Linked DNA regions of Homo sapiens: region 1 is linked to region 2. Evidence: promoter capture Hi-C in human tissues and cell types (Jung and others, 2019). All regions are on one chromosome and are shown on one strand. Each heading gives the region's core, a stretch centred on a gene start or on the middle of the fragment in contact. The rest is flanking DNA. Distances are from core to core; before and after follow the strand shown. Region 1 overlaps ZNF70 (zinc finger protein 70). Region 2 holds the start of MIF (macrophage migration inhibitory factor).

Region 1 (7,401 bases), core at 4,135-6,634, 160 kb before region 2:
ATTACAGGTGTGAGCAACTGGCGCCCAGCCAATACCTGAAGTTCCAGCTCATCCATATTAACTGCTGGAGTATGTTCCATGGTGTGGATTCACCACTATCCTTTTCCTGTTGAGCATTTAGGCTGTTTTCATTTTTCACTTGTTCAATCAATGCTGCCATGTACACTCCAGCAGTACACTGCAGTAGTGGCTTGTGTGAGATTTCTCCAGGTGTGTCCTAGGGTTGGAGCTGCTGGGTTGCAGGGTCTGTTCATCTCCAAGGAGGTTGTCCACACCAGGGCTTTTACCGCCAGCTGCCTCACAATAGAGAAGCATCCAGTCACCAGGGCCTCCCTTGGCCCCATGCAGGTCCGGGTGTCCACCCCAATCAACAGTTTTGCTTATTTCTGGTCCACAAAAAGGTTTCAGTTATTTTGATCTTGGCTAGACCTTTTGGGGGTCTTTTTTTTTTCCTTGAGATGTAGTTTTGCTCTTGTTGCCCAGGCTGGAGTGCAATGGTGCAACCTTGGCTCACTGCAACCTCCACATCCCGGGTTCAAGTGATTCCCTTGCCTCAGCCTCCCAAGTAGCTGGTATTACAGAGGCCCGCCACCACACTTGGCTAATTTTTTTGTATTTTTAGTAGAGACGGGGTCTCACAACGTTGGTCAGGCTGGTCTCAAACTCCTGACCTCAGGTGATCCACCCACCTTGGCCTCCCAAAGTGCTGGGATTACAGGCATGAGTCAGCGTGCTCAGCCTATTATTACTGTAATAATATTTGTCATGCTGATCTATGACCGGTGATCCTTGATGTTACTATTGTATCAGTGCAAAAGTAATTGTGGGTTTTGTCATTAAAAGTAATGGCACTAGGCTGGGCCCTGCTCAGTAGCTTATTTGGTAAGCCGGTGGGTCCTGAAAGTTTGCTTTTTTTTTTTTTTTTTTTTTGGATATGAAGTCTCATTGTCACTAGGCTGGAGTGCAGTGGTGCGATCTCGGCTCACTGCAACCTCCGTCTCCCGGGTTCAAGCAATTCTTCTGCCTCAGCCTCCTGAGTAGCTGGGACTACAGGTGTGTGCCACCACGCCCAGCTAATTTTTTTGTATTTTTATTAGAGATGGGGTTTCTCCATGTTGGTCAGGCTGGTCTCGAACTCCCGACCTCAGGTGATCCGCCTGCCTCGGCGTCGCAAAGTGCTAGGATTACAGGTGTCAGCCACCACGACCAGCCGAAAGTTTGCATTTCTAGCAAGTTCCTGGGCAATAATTATGATGGCCAAGAATGACAGTCTGAGAACGACTGCTCTGGAAGATTTTATCTGTGACCCAGAGCTTTGACCCTTTTGGGGATTTGGTGTGTCATGTCCTTACTGCTGGAGTTTGCTTTAGTTAACAAAATCTGTCATTGCTCCCAAATCACTTGGTAGGGGTTATTCATTCTTCCTTGAGTTGAGCTTCTTTATCTTTGCTGTTAATAAAATGTAAGTTTCAAACATTTCTTTTTTCTTTTAGGGACAGGGTCTTGCTCTGTTACCCAGGCTGGAGTGCAGTGGTGCCATCACAGCTCACTGCAGCCTCCCACTGCTGGGTGTGGTGGTGGGCGCCTGTAGTCGTAGCTACACAGGAGGCTGAGGCAGGAGAATCGCTTGAACCTGGGAGGCGGAGGTTGCAGTGAGCCGAGATCGTGCCACTGCACTCCAGCCTGGGCGACAGAGTGAGACTCTGTCTCAAAAAAAAAAAAAAAAGAAAGAAAGGAAGGAAGCAAGGAAGGAAACAGAAAAGAAATGAAGCCTGACTTCAAGAAGTTCCAACATAGCATGGAGGAGGAGTGCAGGGAGCACGAGGGCGTGTGGGGGGGCGTCTCTGTTGGGAACTCAGGGAAGATGTTCTTGATCTGATTAATTATTCAACCAAAATGACAGGCTGGATTCTAGGCACTGGGAGTACCCTGAAGGGGCTTCTAGTAAACCTGTCCTCTGCATTGGGTCTTGGAAGATAGGGGGAATTTGCCCAAGGAAGAAGGGGAAAAGAACATTGCAGGCAGAGGGAGAAGTCTGGACAAAAAGGGTGACTGGCCTGCTTGAAGAACAGGAAGTCATCCAAGTGGCTATAACTATAACAAAAGGTAGGGAGGAGACGTGGAAAGAGTTTGGGGGAAGGCTGTGAAGAGCTTTGAATGTCAAGAGAGGGAGTTTGATCTTGGTCCTTTAGGTCATAGGGAGCCCCAGTCAATTTTAAAATCAGAAGAGCCAAATTTATTTTATTTTATTTTTATTTATTTATTTATTTTTAGACGGAGTTTCGCTCTTGTTGCCCAGGCTGGAGTGCAATGGCATGGTCCGGGCTCACTGCAACCTCTGCCTCCCAGGTTCAAGCGATTCTCCTGCCTCAGTCTCCCAAGTAGCTGGGATTACAGGCATGCGCCACCACGCCCAGCTAATTTTGTATTTTTAGTAAAGATGGGGTTTCTCAATGTTGGTCAGGCTGGTCTCAAACTCCTGACCTCAGGTGATCCACCCCCCTCGGCCTCCTAAAGTGCTGGGATTACAGGTGTGAGCCACTGCTCCCGGCCAAAACCCCATCTTAAAAAAGAAAGAAAGGAAGGAAGGAAGATAAATCTAGCTATAGTATTGAGCTATATGGGATGGAACAGAGGGAGAAAAAGAGACCAATGGCTGGAATGTGTTGTGGTTTGACGATTTCTAGCCCTGGCTCAACTTAAGAATGGAATTACTTGGAGTTCCCAGAATGGATCCAACTGTTTCAAGCCTTCCTAAATGCTCTTCCCTGTGCCTGGGATGCCCTTCCCTCAGTGTCGGTCTTGCTACCTCCCATTCATTCATCAGTATTCTAGCCAAACATCATCAATGTCAGGTAGGCTCCCAGTTGATCCAGGTGTCCAACTCTGGGCTCCCATGTGATCCTGAGTAGTACGGGCATTTAGCGATCTTTTCCTGATTTGGGAGCACTGTAGTAGTGCCTTCTGGGCCTTCTCCACCACCCAAGTGGTAAGCTCCTTGCAAGCAAAGCTTCGTCTGACACATTTTAGTGTCCTGACTCCAAGCCCTCTCCTGTCTTCCCCCACAGAAGCCCTAGAACTGGGCTGCAGCTGACCACTGGGAAGACAGGAAAGACTGTGAGACCAACTGTATGCCATGTGGTCCTGAAAAATGCGAAAATGGAGTGGCAAGTCCTGAGAGCCACCAGCTAGTGTCTGAGGCCTGGCATCCCTTTCTGGGAGGCCTCGTGTGAAAGCCAGTGGCATTCTGCAGATGTGAGGTCGTACTTCTGAATACGCAGCAAAATCCTGGGGCCAAATGCTTTGACAGATGAATTGAGGCTAGAAAGAGAGTTGGAGAAGTGGTTTGACAGCAGGGCTGTAACCACAATACCTAACATGGGTAAGTCACCAGGTGGCAGGCTCTGAGCTAAAATTCATCTCATTGCATCTTCATGACAGTACTGTTTATACATAAAGAAACAGAAGCTGGCCGGGCATGGTGGCTCACGCCTGTAATCCCAGCACTTTGGGAGGCCGAGGCGGGTGGATCACCTGAGGTAGGGAGTTTGAGACCAGCCTGACCAACACGGAGAAACCCCGTCTCTAATAAAAATACAAAATAAGCTGGGCATGGTGGCGCATGCCTATAACCCCAGCTACTTGGGAGGCTGAGGCAAGAGAATCGCTTGAACCCGGGAGGCAGAGGTTGTGGTGAGCCGAGATCTTGCCATTGTACTCCAGCCTGGGCAACAAGAGCAAAACTCTGTCTCCAAAAAAACAAAAGAAAAAAAGAAAAAAAAAAAAAACAGAAGCTGCAAAGGGTTAGGGGTTAGAGGACATGCACACAGGCACCCAGGTAGAAGGGGACACTCAGTCTGGCTGCCCAGATGACAGAAGAGAGATTGTCAGTCCAGGTTTCTTTGCAGCAAACAGCAAGCTTGCAAGCTTGGTATGTGCGGAGGCCACGCTGTAGGTATGGGGAAGAGAACTCAGGAAGAGGAGAAAGACAGGAAAGCAGCATAAAGGCTTGCAAAAAAATTAAAAACAAATAAAAAGCAGATGAGTCAAAAGAGTCTGCAGCTGAGTCCCTGACAGTCGACACTGAAATGGACATAAGCCTTTATCCTGAGGAAGCATCCTTGGCATTAAAGACTCATAGGAGGCCCAGGCGCAGTGGCTCATGTCTGTAATCCCAGCACTTTGGGAGGCTGAGGCTGGTGGATCACCTGAGGTCAGGAGATAGAGACCGGCCTGGCGAACATGGGGAAACCATGCCTCTACTAAAAATACAAAATTAGCAGGGCATGGTGGCGCATGCCTGTTATCCCAGCTGTTATCCCAGCTACTTGGGAGGCCGAGGCAAGAGAATCGCTTGAACCTGGGAGGTGGAGGTTGCAGTGAGCTGAGATCACGCCACTGCACTCTAGCCTGGCAACAGAGTGAGACTCCGTCCCCCAAAAAAAAAAAAAAAAAATTAGCCAGGTGCAATGGCGCGTGCCTGTAATCTCAGCTACTTTGGAGGCTGAGGCAGGAGAATCGCTTGATCCTGGTTGCAGTGAGCCGAGATCGCACCACTGCACTCCAGCCTGGGCTACAGAGCAAGACTTCATCTCAAAAAAAAAAAAAAAGAAAGAAAGAAATACTTCAAAACACTAATAGTGTAATAATCAACTGCACCTGATAGTTTGCTAAGCATGTTTGCATTCCTTATACCACTGAGGCCCCCAAGGCTGTGAGTGTCATCATTCCCCCATGTTATAGCTTAGGACCCTGAAGTCAGAGGCTGTAACTTGAGGAATGGGCTCAGGGCAGATCTTGGCACTGAACCCAAATGTGACAAGAAGAGAGACAGGTGGGCCCAATGGCAGACCTCTAGTCTATCCAGAAATGACACTCCACATATGGTTAATAACTCCTAGAGATGGGAGTGAGGGGTGAGCATGGCTTTTTGAGGTTAAATTAGTTAATATATATTAAAATATTAAAATGAAAATAAATTATGCCTTGCTCAATAGTATTAATGATAGAACTTCTCGTACAAAAATAAATTACAGAAAGAACCAGAAAACAAACTCTAACAATTTGTTGTTTATGTAGATGTATAGCAAAATATATACACAAATTTAAAAAACAAAATGCTGAGCTAAACTCTACCAGGCAAATTCAAGAAAAGCAGGGGGCTTCAATTATAATATTTGGAAAAGACAAGTTTAAGCTAGAAATATTAAAAGAGGCAAAGAGGGTACTTAGCATAGTTTTTCTTTTTCTTTTTTTTTTTTTTTTTTTGAGATGGAGTCTTGCTCTGTCACCCAGGCTGGAGTGCAGTGGCACAATCTCTGCTCATTGCAACCTCCACCTCCCGGGTTCAAGTGATTCTTCTGCCCCAGCCTCCCAAGTAGCTGGGATTACAGGCACAAACCACCATGCCCAGCTAATTTTTTGTATTTTTAGTAGAGATGGGGTTTCACTATTATGGCCAAGCTCGTTTCAAACTCCTGACCTCAAGTGATCCGCCCACCTTGGCCTCCCAAAGTGCTAGGATTACAGGCATGAGCCACTGTGCCTGGCCGAGTTTTTCAATATATCACTATTAAATATATATGCCCCAAACATGATACTTATTTATTGATAATTCATACCCTGCCTATTTCTCAAAAATGACTTGAGAAAAACTGCACAACATAGCGACAATACACATACAGAAATTAAAAGTGAAACAGGAATACATAGAGATATAACACACAAACATCAAACTATGATTAGATCAGGTAAATGAGTGTTCTGAACTGCTTTGGTGTCACAGAGGCATTTAAAAATATAGTAAATACTACAGATCCTTGTCCCAGCAAAATTCCTTCAAGCACATACCCAGCTTTGTTCGATCCCTAGGGGTCTGCAACTCCTAAACCCCTACATGCTAAAGACTCCTAGGCAGGCCATGGACCCCCAGATTAAGAACTCTAAAGTAAATGAAAGTCAGAGAAAATATGGATTTGAATAAAATAATGAAAAAATTGAGTTAACAAATAGAACTGGTAGAATAAAAACACATTTTGAGATTACACAAATGCTTTTATAAAAACTGATAATATATTCAGGCCCAAAGAAGTCCTATGGACACTTAGAAATGTTGACACCACAGTACAGTAAGAAATAAGCAGCAATACCCTAAGCATTCATCACTTAGAAATTTTTTTTATATATATTTTTTTTGAGACAGAGTCTAGCTCTTTTGCCCAGGCTGGAGTGCAGTGGCACCACCTCGGCTCACTGCAAGCTCTGCCTCCCGGGTTCACACCATTCTCCTGCCTCAGCCTCCCAAGTAGCTGGGACTACAGGCGCACAGCTGCCTGTAGCCACCACGCACGGCTAATTTTTTGTATTTTTAATAGAGACAGGGTTTCATCGTGTTAGCCAGGATGGTTTCGATCTCCTGACCTCATGATCTGCCCGTCTTGGCCTCCCAAAGTGCTGGGATTACAGGCTTGAGCCACCGCTCCCGGCTATTTTTTGTTTTTGTTGTTGTTGTTTTCCCCGAGATGGAGTCTTGCCCTGTCACCCAGGCTGAAGGGTAGTGGCACAATCTTGGCTCACTGCAACCTCCGCCTCCCGGGTTCAAGCGATTCTCCTGCCTCAGCCTCCCGTGTAGCTGGGATTACAGGCACCCGCCACCATGCCCAGTTAATTTTTGTATTTTTAGTAGAGACGGGTTTTCACCATGTTGGCCAGGCTGGTCTTAAACTCCTGACCTCGTGATCCACCCACCTCGGCCTTCCAAAGTGCTGGGATTACAGGTGTGAGTCACCATGCCCGGCCCACTTAGAAATATTTTTAAATAATAACATTTGGGCAAAAGGAAATTCTTAATACTATAACAAAAAACACCACGTCAAAACTTACGGAGTGCAGACAAAGCTGTCACTCTAAGGAGAAGAAGAAATAAAAAAATGCCGAGCGCGGTGGCTCACACCTGTAATCCCAGCACTTTGGGAGGCCGAGGCGGGCGGATCACGAGCTCAGGAGATAGATACCATCTTGGCTAACACGGTGAAACCCCGTCTCTATTAAAAATACAAAAAATTAGCCGGGCGTGGTGGCGGGTGCCTGTAGTCCCAGCTACTTGGGAGGCTGAGGCAGGAGAATGGTCTGAACCTGGGAGGTAGAGCTTGCAGTAAGCCGAGATCGCCCCACTGCACTACAGCCTGGGTGACAAAGCAAGACTCCATCTCAAAAAAAGAAAAAAGAAAAAAGAAAAAAAAAGGTAGGACAACAAAAACAAAGAACAACTAAATTAAAAGATAATTGATTAAAATATTGCCAGGGATGATCTTTTATAACTTTACACTGTTTGAGAATCTAAATAGAATGAGAGAGTTTAAAAAAAAAAATCTAATAAGCTGGCTGGGCACATGGCTCACG
Region 2 (7,769 bases), core at 1,179-3,678:
GAGCCATGGTACTGAAGGACAGTGCGCCATAACTCAGAGAACCAGGGAGGGTTGGCGGAGGCTCACAGGGACCGGGTTACCCCAGGGCCTTGTGACAGTACTACCCCTAGTATCAGAGGAGACTGTCATTGGCATTTAGGCCACTTGGTGCTCATAACACCTCTATGTCAGGTGAACACTATTGTCATCCCCAAATTACAGATGGGGAAAGTGAGCCAAATGTCCATGCTAGTAAGAGGCAAATCATATCACTTCTTTGGGTACCCTTCTAGAAGGATGAGGCTGACTGCCACTGGAAACAGCTGGGGAGGGTACAAGGAGATGACAAGTGGCTCAGAGGCTGTCCTGGCTATAAGAATTAAAGAGGAAAGAAACACCAAGGGTGGCTCGACAGTCAACAAGGACAGGTTTATTTTGGAAAACAAACTTGAGAGGGGCTTCTGGCCAAGTTAGGTCAGAGCCACACTCTCTTACAAACTAAGGATATTTAAGGGTTTTGGAGGGGGTTCTTATCATAGGTTCTGAATGTTTCTGTGTGAGGGAAAGTTTATTGCGGGGATGGAATGTCTCTGGTCAGAAGGGAGGCTGTCTCCGGGTTGGCATGTTTCTGGTCAGAGAAGGGTTTATCTTAGGGTTGGAATGTTTCTGGTTATGCTGACATTAGCTATTAGGCTGATATTTTCGGGCTGGATTTAGGCGGCTTTTAATTAAGGGGGAACTTAGAATGGTGGTGTTTGTTCAAGATGGCAATGCTCCTGCTCCGTCACTGGCCAGGTAAGGCAACCCTTTGTTATGGTAACAACCTGAGATTGGCAGGGGCTCACCTCCAGGGGCAGCTCATGTGCTTGCTGGCGAGGCTGCACCTTGTCATTCAGGTTCACAGGGCACAGGTCAACCAGGCCCTGGCTCTTCAGTCTTCTGCCTGGAGTGACTTATGTAATTCTGCTCAGCTTTCATAGGGCACAGGGAGTCGGGGCTAACTCTGCTGCCTGGGGCTGGAAACAGACTCCTCCCTTGAGGAGCAGCAGTCCACCATAGGGAAGTCACAGTGGTCCAGGCCAAAGGGGATGCAGGTAGTGTAGACTAGGCGGTAGTTCAGGGAATGGAGAGAAGTGGGAATAAAGGGATAGTGAAAGGAAGCATATTTTACTGGCAGGTGATGAGGTGTAGGAGGACAAGTCATACATTTGGACTTTACAGAGCAGTGGACACTCAGTCAGCTGCTGTCAGCGCCTGGGACTTAGGGGAGTGCCCCTGGCTGGAGACATGGTATGGAGTGCCATCAGTTAGGGAGCCCTGGGCACAGGTAAGAGAAGGTGTGACACCAGGAGGGAAAGAGTCTGGGGCCCAGCTGCAGGAACCAATACCCATAGGCTATTTGTATAAATGGGCCATGGGGCCTCCCAGCTGGAGGCTGGCTGGTGCCACGAGGGTCCCACAGGCATGGGTGTCCTTCCTATATCACATGGCCTTCACTGAGACTGGTATATGGATTGCACCTATCAGAGACCAAGGACAGGACCTCCCTGGAAATCTCTGAGGACCTGGCCTGTGATCCAGTTGCTGCCTTGTCCTCTTCCTGCTATGTCATGGCTTATCTTCTTTCACCCATTCATTCATTCATTCATTCAGCAGTATTAGTCAATGTCTCTTGTATGCCTGGCACCTGCTAGATGGTCCCCGAGTTTACCATTAGTGGAAAAGACATTTAAGAAATTCACCAAGGGCTCTATGAGAGGCCATACACGGTGGACCTGACTAGGGTGTGGCTTCCCTGAGGAGCTGAAGTTGCCCAGAGGCCCAGAGAAGGGGAGCTGAGCACGTTTGAACCACTGAACCTGCTCTGGACCTCGCCTCCTTCCCTTCGGTGCCTCCCAGCATCCTATCCTCTTTAAAGAGCAGGGGTTCAGGGAAGTTCCCTGGATGGTGATTCGCAGGGGCAGCTCCCCTCTCACCTGCCGCGATGACTACCCCGCCCCATCTCAAACACACAAGCTCACGCATGCGGGACTGGAGCCCTTGAGGACATGTGGCCCAAAGACAGGAGGTACAGGGGCTCAGTGCGTGCAGTGGAATGAACTGGGCTTCATCTCTGGAAGGGTAAGGGGCCATCTTCCGGGTTCACCGCCGCATCCCCACCCCCGGCACAGCGCCTCCTGGCGACTAACATCGGTGACTTAGTGAAAGGACTAAGAAAGACCCGAGGCGAGGCCGGAACAGGCCGATTTCTAGCCGCCAAGTGGAGAACAGGTTGGAGCGGTGCGCCGGGCTTAGCGGCGGTTGCTGGAGGAACGGGCGGAGTCGCCCAGGGTCCTGCCCTGCGGGGGTCGAGCCGAGGCAGGCGGTGACTTCCCCACTCGGGGCGGAGCCGCAGCCTCGCGGGGGCGGGGCCTGGCGCCGGCGGTGGCGTCACAAAAGGCGGGACCACAGTGGTGTCCGAGAAGTCAGGCACGTAGCTCAGCGGCGGCCGCGGCGCGTGCGTCTGTGCCTCTGCGCGGGTCTCCTGGTCCTTCTGCCATCATGCCGATGTTCATCGTAAACACCAACGTGCCCCGCGCCTCCGTGCCGGACGGGTTCCTCTCCGAGCTCACCCAGCAGCTGGCGCAGGCCACCGGCAAGCCCCCCCAGGTTTGCCGGGAGGGGACAGGAAGAGGGGGGTGCCCACCGGACGAGGGGTTCCGCGCTGGGAGCTGGGGAGGCGACTCCTGAACGGAGCTGGGGGGCGGGGCGGGGGGAGGACGGTGGCTCGGGCCCGAAGTGGACGTTCGGGGCCCGACGAGGTCGCTGGGGCGGGCTGACCGCGCCCTTTCCTCGCAGTACATCGCGGTGCACGTGGTCCCGGACCAGCTCATGGCCTTCGGCGGCTCCAGCGAGCCGTGCGCGCTCTGCAGCCTGCACAGCATCGGCAAGATCGGCGGCGCGCAGAACCGCTCCTACAGCAAGCTGCTGTGCGGCCTGCTGGCCGAGCGCCTGCGCATCAGCCCGGACAGGTACGCGGAGTCGCGGAGGGGCGGGGGAGGGGCGGCGGCGCGCGGCCAGGCCCGGGACTGAGCCACCCGCTGAGTCCGGCCTCCTCCCCCCGCAGGGTCTACATCAACTATTACGACATGAACGCGGCCAATGTGGGCTGGAACAACTCCACCTTCGCCTAAGAGCCGCAGGGACCCACGCTGTCTGCGCTGGCTCCACCCGGGAACCCGCCGCACGCTGTGTTCTAGGCCCGCCCACCCCAACCTTCTGGTGGGGAGAAATAAACGGTTTAGAGACTAGGAGTGCCTCGGGGTTCCTTGGCTTGCGGGAGGAATTGGTGCAGAGCCGGGATATTGGGGAGCGAGGTCGGGAACGGTGTTGGGGGCGGGGGTCAGGGCCGGGTTGCTCTCCTCCGAACCTGCTGTTCGGGAGCCCTTTTGTCCAGCCTGTCCCTCCTACGCTCCTAACAGAGGAGCCCCAGTGTCTTTCCATTCTATGGCGTACGAAGGGATGAGGAGAAGTTGGCACTCTGCCCTGGGCTGCAGACTCGGGATCTAAGGCGCTCTGCCCGCCGGAATCCGTTGTACCTAGGGCCACCACGTGGGGTGCTGGAGGTGAGCCGACCACGGAAGAGGGGGAGGAGGAGTTGGAGTTGGGAGGAGTCCGAGGTCTTCTAGGCCTAGACCTTTCTCTCAGCCCCACCTTCCCCAGCCTTCTTGTTGGGCAGAGGGTAGCCAGAGGACAGAAAGATCCCACCCAGAGCCACTCACTGCCATCCACTTTGTTAGGTGACTTCAGGAGAGTTTTCAGGCGGGTGGGTGGGGGAGGTGCAGAGTTCTTGGTCATACCGCCCCGTCCACCCCCGAACCCCACGCCTTGGGTTCTGCTCCCCTCAGACACCCACCAAGCCTCCGCCACAGCAGTTCCCTGAGGAAATTGGGCGTGGGGTTTCCATTGGGACCGTTCGTGTTCTGTGGTGCCACAGACATGTCTGTAAAACCTTCAGTTATGTTTGGGCGCAGTGGCACAAGCCTGTGATCCCGGCACTTTGGGAGGTGGAGGTGAGTGGAGTGTGACTCCTCTGCTTCTCTCAGTCTCCAGCCACATCTCGTCTCCAGTCCCCTGTTCACTCGGTCATCCCGCGCAGTACTGGACAGCGAGCTCTCCTTCCAGAAGAGCAATGGGGCTGGGTGGGGTGAAGATTAGGAAGAGGAAGGAGAATAGAAGCTCCAGGGAGTCTGGAAGGGTGGCACCCATCTTGGGATGGGGCACCCCTTCCATGAAGGTCTCTAAAGCAAGGCCCTCCTCAGCTTACTCCCTGCCAGCCGAGGGCCTCAGTCTCATTGTTAACTCAGTGAGAGGGCGGTGGAGCCCCTCGTCTACCTCCCAGCTGGGGGAGACATGGGGGGCATGGGATGGCTCCAGCTGTAGCGGGAAGGTCCCACTCCTCTCAGCCTGGCTTTCAGGCTTGAGGTTTCCTTCTTGGATCTGAGTACCTGTGGTGTAACAGGCACCCTCCTCGGCCCTGGCCTTTATCACATCCCCTCAGCTCCTGGGTGCCCCCAGCCCCAGCCTCCCAAGGCCTGAGGCTGAGCTTTGCCCAGGACCCCCAGTTCCCCCCACAACAAACTCTTTCTGCCTCGGGCCCCACACCCCACCAAGCCCTGGCTGGCCCCCTGGCTCCCACCCCGCCTCAGCGGTCTTTGCTCTCGGCTGTGTCACAGATAGGGAGAGCAGGGGCGCAGTGCCCCATGAGCATCTAATGCAACTCCCTCATTTCACAGATGAGGACACTGACCCCAGGATCCAGGGCATGGTCATACACTCAATGCCATGCCCCCTGCAAGGGCCCTGTGGCCTCACATGAGCAAGTTAGACTCTGAGGGCCGAGGAGATGGGCAGGGCAGGCTGGGCACCTGCTGTGTGAGGGCAGGAGGGTTGGTGAGAGCTGTCCTCCAAAAGCAGGTGAGTGTCTGAGGTTCTGTGGCCCCCTGGGGGCATCCACAAGGTCATGGGTCCTTGGACTCCAGGAACAAAGGGGGTGTCTGTGGGTCAGGGACCTATCCGCTTGCCCTGCCCAAAGTGTTCCTAAGTCCCCTGGGACTAATAACCGGCCTGCCTGCTGGGGAGGTCAGCTGCTACATCCCACCTTCAAGCCACACCTGCCCCCATTGACCCCCATCCCATGGCCAGCTCCATTTCCTCCAAAGCACAGGCTCCACTGCCCACCAGGTGGTGGGTCTCTTCCTCAAACCCCTGTTTGACTGCCCCAGGACCTGCAGGGTCAGCCTTGGAAATGCATTTCCAAGTAACGCCACAAACTCTGAGGTACAGGACAGACAGGTGTGGGGTCCATCTGCCTGTTCTCCATCACTCTGGTGGTACTATGTCATCTGCTGAGAAAGACCCCCGGCCTACAGGGTGACCCTCACTCTCCTCAGGGCCACTGTTTGCAACAGACAGACAGCCTGGCAGGCCTTGAACCTCATTTTGTAGGTTCAAGGCCTGTCCCCCATCTGTCCACTATAAGCCTCACACACACCATTCTTCTGGGATACCTTCCCTGAGGCCACCTGGTCAACACCCACAGGCCCCTTTGCTTCAGCCCAGGTCCTGTTAGCTGAGGTTTCCATTTCTGGACATAGCTCCACCCAGTTCTGTGATCCGTTGGGCTGGTGGCACCAGGGGCCCCTCGGTACTTGTCCATTCTGGACAGCCCAGCAATGTAGGCTTTTCCCAAGACTTCCCACCCTGCATGTGTCCCACCTCATCCCCTCCAGGAATTTTGCTTTGTTGCAGAGACTCCCTCCCCACCACCCCCCACCGCCAGCCTCCAGACCCCACTCCCTTCTGGGAGCCCGATTCCAGCAAGATCAGGATCAGGCTCCCACTCTGCTCCTTCTACTGGCCTCAGTTTTTCCCATCTGTGAAATGAAGGGATTCATCAGAAGTCCTTCCCACATACTCAATCACGGAGGCATGACAGGGACATCTCACATCCTCAGAGGCACGGTTAATCCAAGGAATGCCATGGGAAGGGAGGAGACAGCAGGTGGCCTGTGCCTGCACTCAGGTCTTGATAAATTGTGAAATCTCTCCCTCACCCCTTCCTCGGAGGGCACTATTGTTCCTGATGTGCCAGCCTTGATGGCAGTGGATAGGGAGGCAGGGACAGAGACAATGAGGAAGTGTGGTTAGGTATCTACTTAGAAGTCTCCAGATGGAGCCGGGAAGTGCTAGGAGGCCAGTGAGGCCAGTCTGTGCAGCAGGGCAAACGAGTGGTATCCTGCTGGGATGCAACTCAAATGCCTTCACTGGGAACTGCTCCCCCACCAGCCCCACACTGAAGGGCTGGCTCTACCACTCACAGGAGCTGGCAGGGCAGGCAATGAGACAACCCTACTGCCTCTAATGCAGTAGATAAAATTAATGCAGGGCCAACCCTCATATCAGAGTGGTTTTTCAGTTACCTGGACAAGTGCCAAGGGAGGGGCCCCTGGGGCCACCAGCCCAAAGACCACAGAACTGAGTGGAGCTCTCTATGTGCAGGAGACACACACAGAGATCAACTGATCCTTGGAGCTTGGGAGATTTCCAGGATTTCTGGGCCACTGACACTGTTTCTATAAAGCCCTCTTTGGCCATCTCAGTTCCTTTCCAGGCTAAGCAGTGAAAGCCAAGTCTTAGTTCTCCAGGCCTGGGCCTTCCTGAGTAATTTACAGGACTGGTGTGAGGGACAATGTCAACCCACCAGCCAACTGCCCAGATTTCCCCTCCTGGCGAGTGAGGCCAAGCCACTTCATTTCTATGTTTGAAGCCCATGTAAAAGAAACAGAGATTGTCAGTTTCAGAAACCGACTCTGTCCCTTCAGTCCTGGAACCTCAGGCCTCATCTGGTGACTATGGGGTCTCAACTTACAGTTTAGCTCTCAAAACAGCCAGACAGAGCACCAAATTGAAAGGCTACAAATGAGAAGTATCGTCCCCACCGCCCCAGTGACTTGGCTTCTTGCGTACCTAGTTCTCTTCTCAGTTTAATAGGTAATAGATTTATATGGCTCAAATTCAAAGCATGCCCAGGGGCTCCAGAGAGAAGGCTCCCTCCTGTTGCCTCCCTCCACAGGGTAATCCTTTCTCAAATTCACTAGATCACTGCATCCAGACAGGGAGACACTGGATCCCTCGTTCATCATGGCTGCGTTCTTACCCCTCCCTAACTCCTTCCCAAACATAGCTACATCCCTTCCACTGTTATATAACCCTCCAATTTTGGCCGGTCAGGGAGATGGATTCAAGACTTATCTCCCATTCTCCTTGGCTGCAGCACCTGAATAAAGCCCTTCCTCCCGGCAGTGATTGGCTGTGCAGCATGCAATGGGACCCAGACAAAACCCCTGGTGTTTCAGTAACACATTCAGACTATGGAACAGATTAACCCCGGCTCCCTAGAATTTGTTTTCTGAAGAACAAACAAACAAGGCAATAATGTCTTATGAAAAGACATCAGTAACCTTAAGCCTGTAAACCCCATCCATCTGTAGGGCACCCCATCTCACAGCAAAGCATGGGTGACAGCTGTGTGCTGAGAAGAGTCGGAAAAGGAGCCATGCTTCCAAGAATGTCTCCCTCATAACATGATGAGATGAGTCCTTAGTGAATTGCCAACCAAAACAAAAAACACAGCTGCTAAAAAAGAAGGTTCCTCCTTTGGAATCCTTGTACTACCATATCAAAATATTGAGAAGGAGCATCTCTTGTATTGACAGTAAGGATGCTGATGACTATTAGTGAATAAAAAG

The links. The method cuts DNA at HindIII sites, captures the fragments that hold promoters and counts their contacts. A contact is called where the count stands out against the background at its distance.
Region 1: a fragment that was not itself captured here is called in contact with the fragment with the promoter of MIF in region 2 in 1 of the 25 tissues and cell types used here (adrenal gland).

Annotation. Positions count from the first base shown.
Region 1 is chr22:23,733,099-23,740,499 of GRCh38, forward strand. ZNF70 (zinc finger protein 70) reads right to left here. Exons shown (of 2, transcript NM_021916.4): 2 at 5,584-7,401. LOC124905088 (a long non-coding RNA gene) reads right to left here and starts at 504. Exons shown (of 2, transcript XR_007068020.1): 1 at 36-504. The HindIII fragment of the contact is 3,840 bases long and covers 3,465-7,304 here.
Region 2 is chr22:23,891,955-23,899,723 of GRCh38, forward strand. MIF (macrophage migration inhibitory factor) reads left to right here and starts at 2,429. Exons shown (of 3, transcript NM_002415.2): 1 at 2,429-2,628; 2 at 2,818-2,990; 3 at 3,086-3,269. The coding sequence starts at 2,521. The coding sequence ends at 3,152. MIF-AS1 (MIF antisense RNA 1) reads right to left here and starts at 6,976. Exons shown (of 3, transcript NR_038911.1): 1 at 6,890-6,976; 2 at 3,875-4,156; 3 at 1,756-3,578. RefSeq lists enhancers at 2,104-2,911, 2,912-3,719. The HindIII fragment of the contact is 32,419 bases long and covers 1-7,769 here.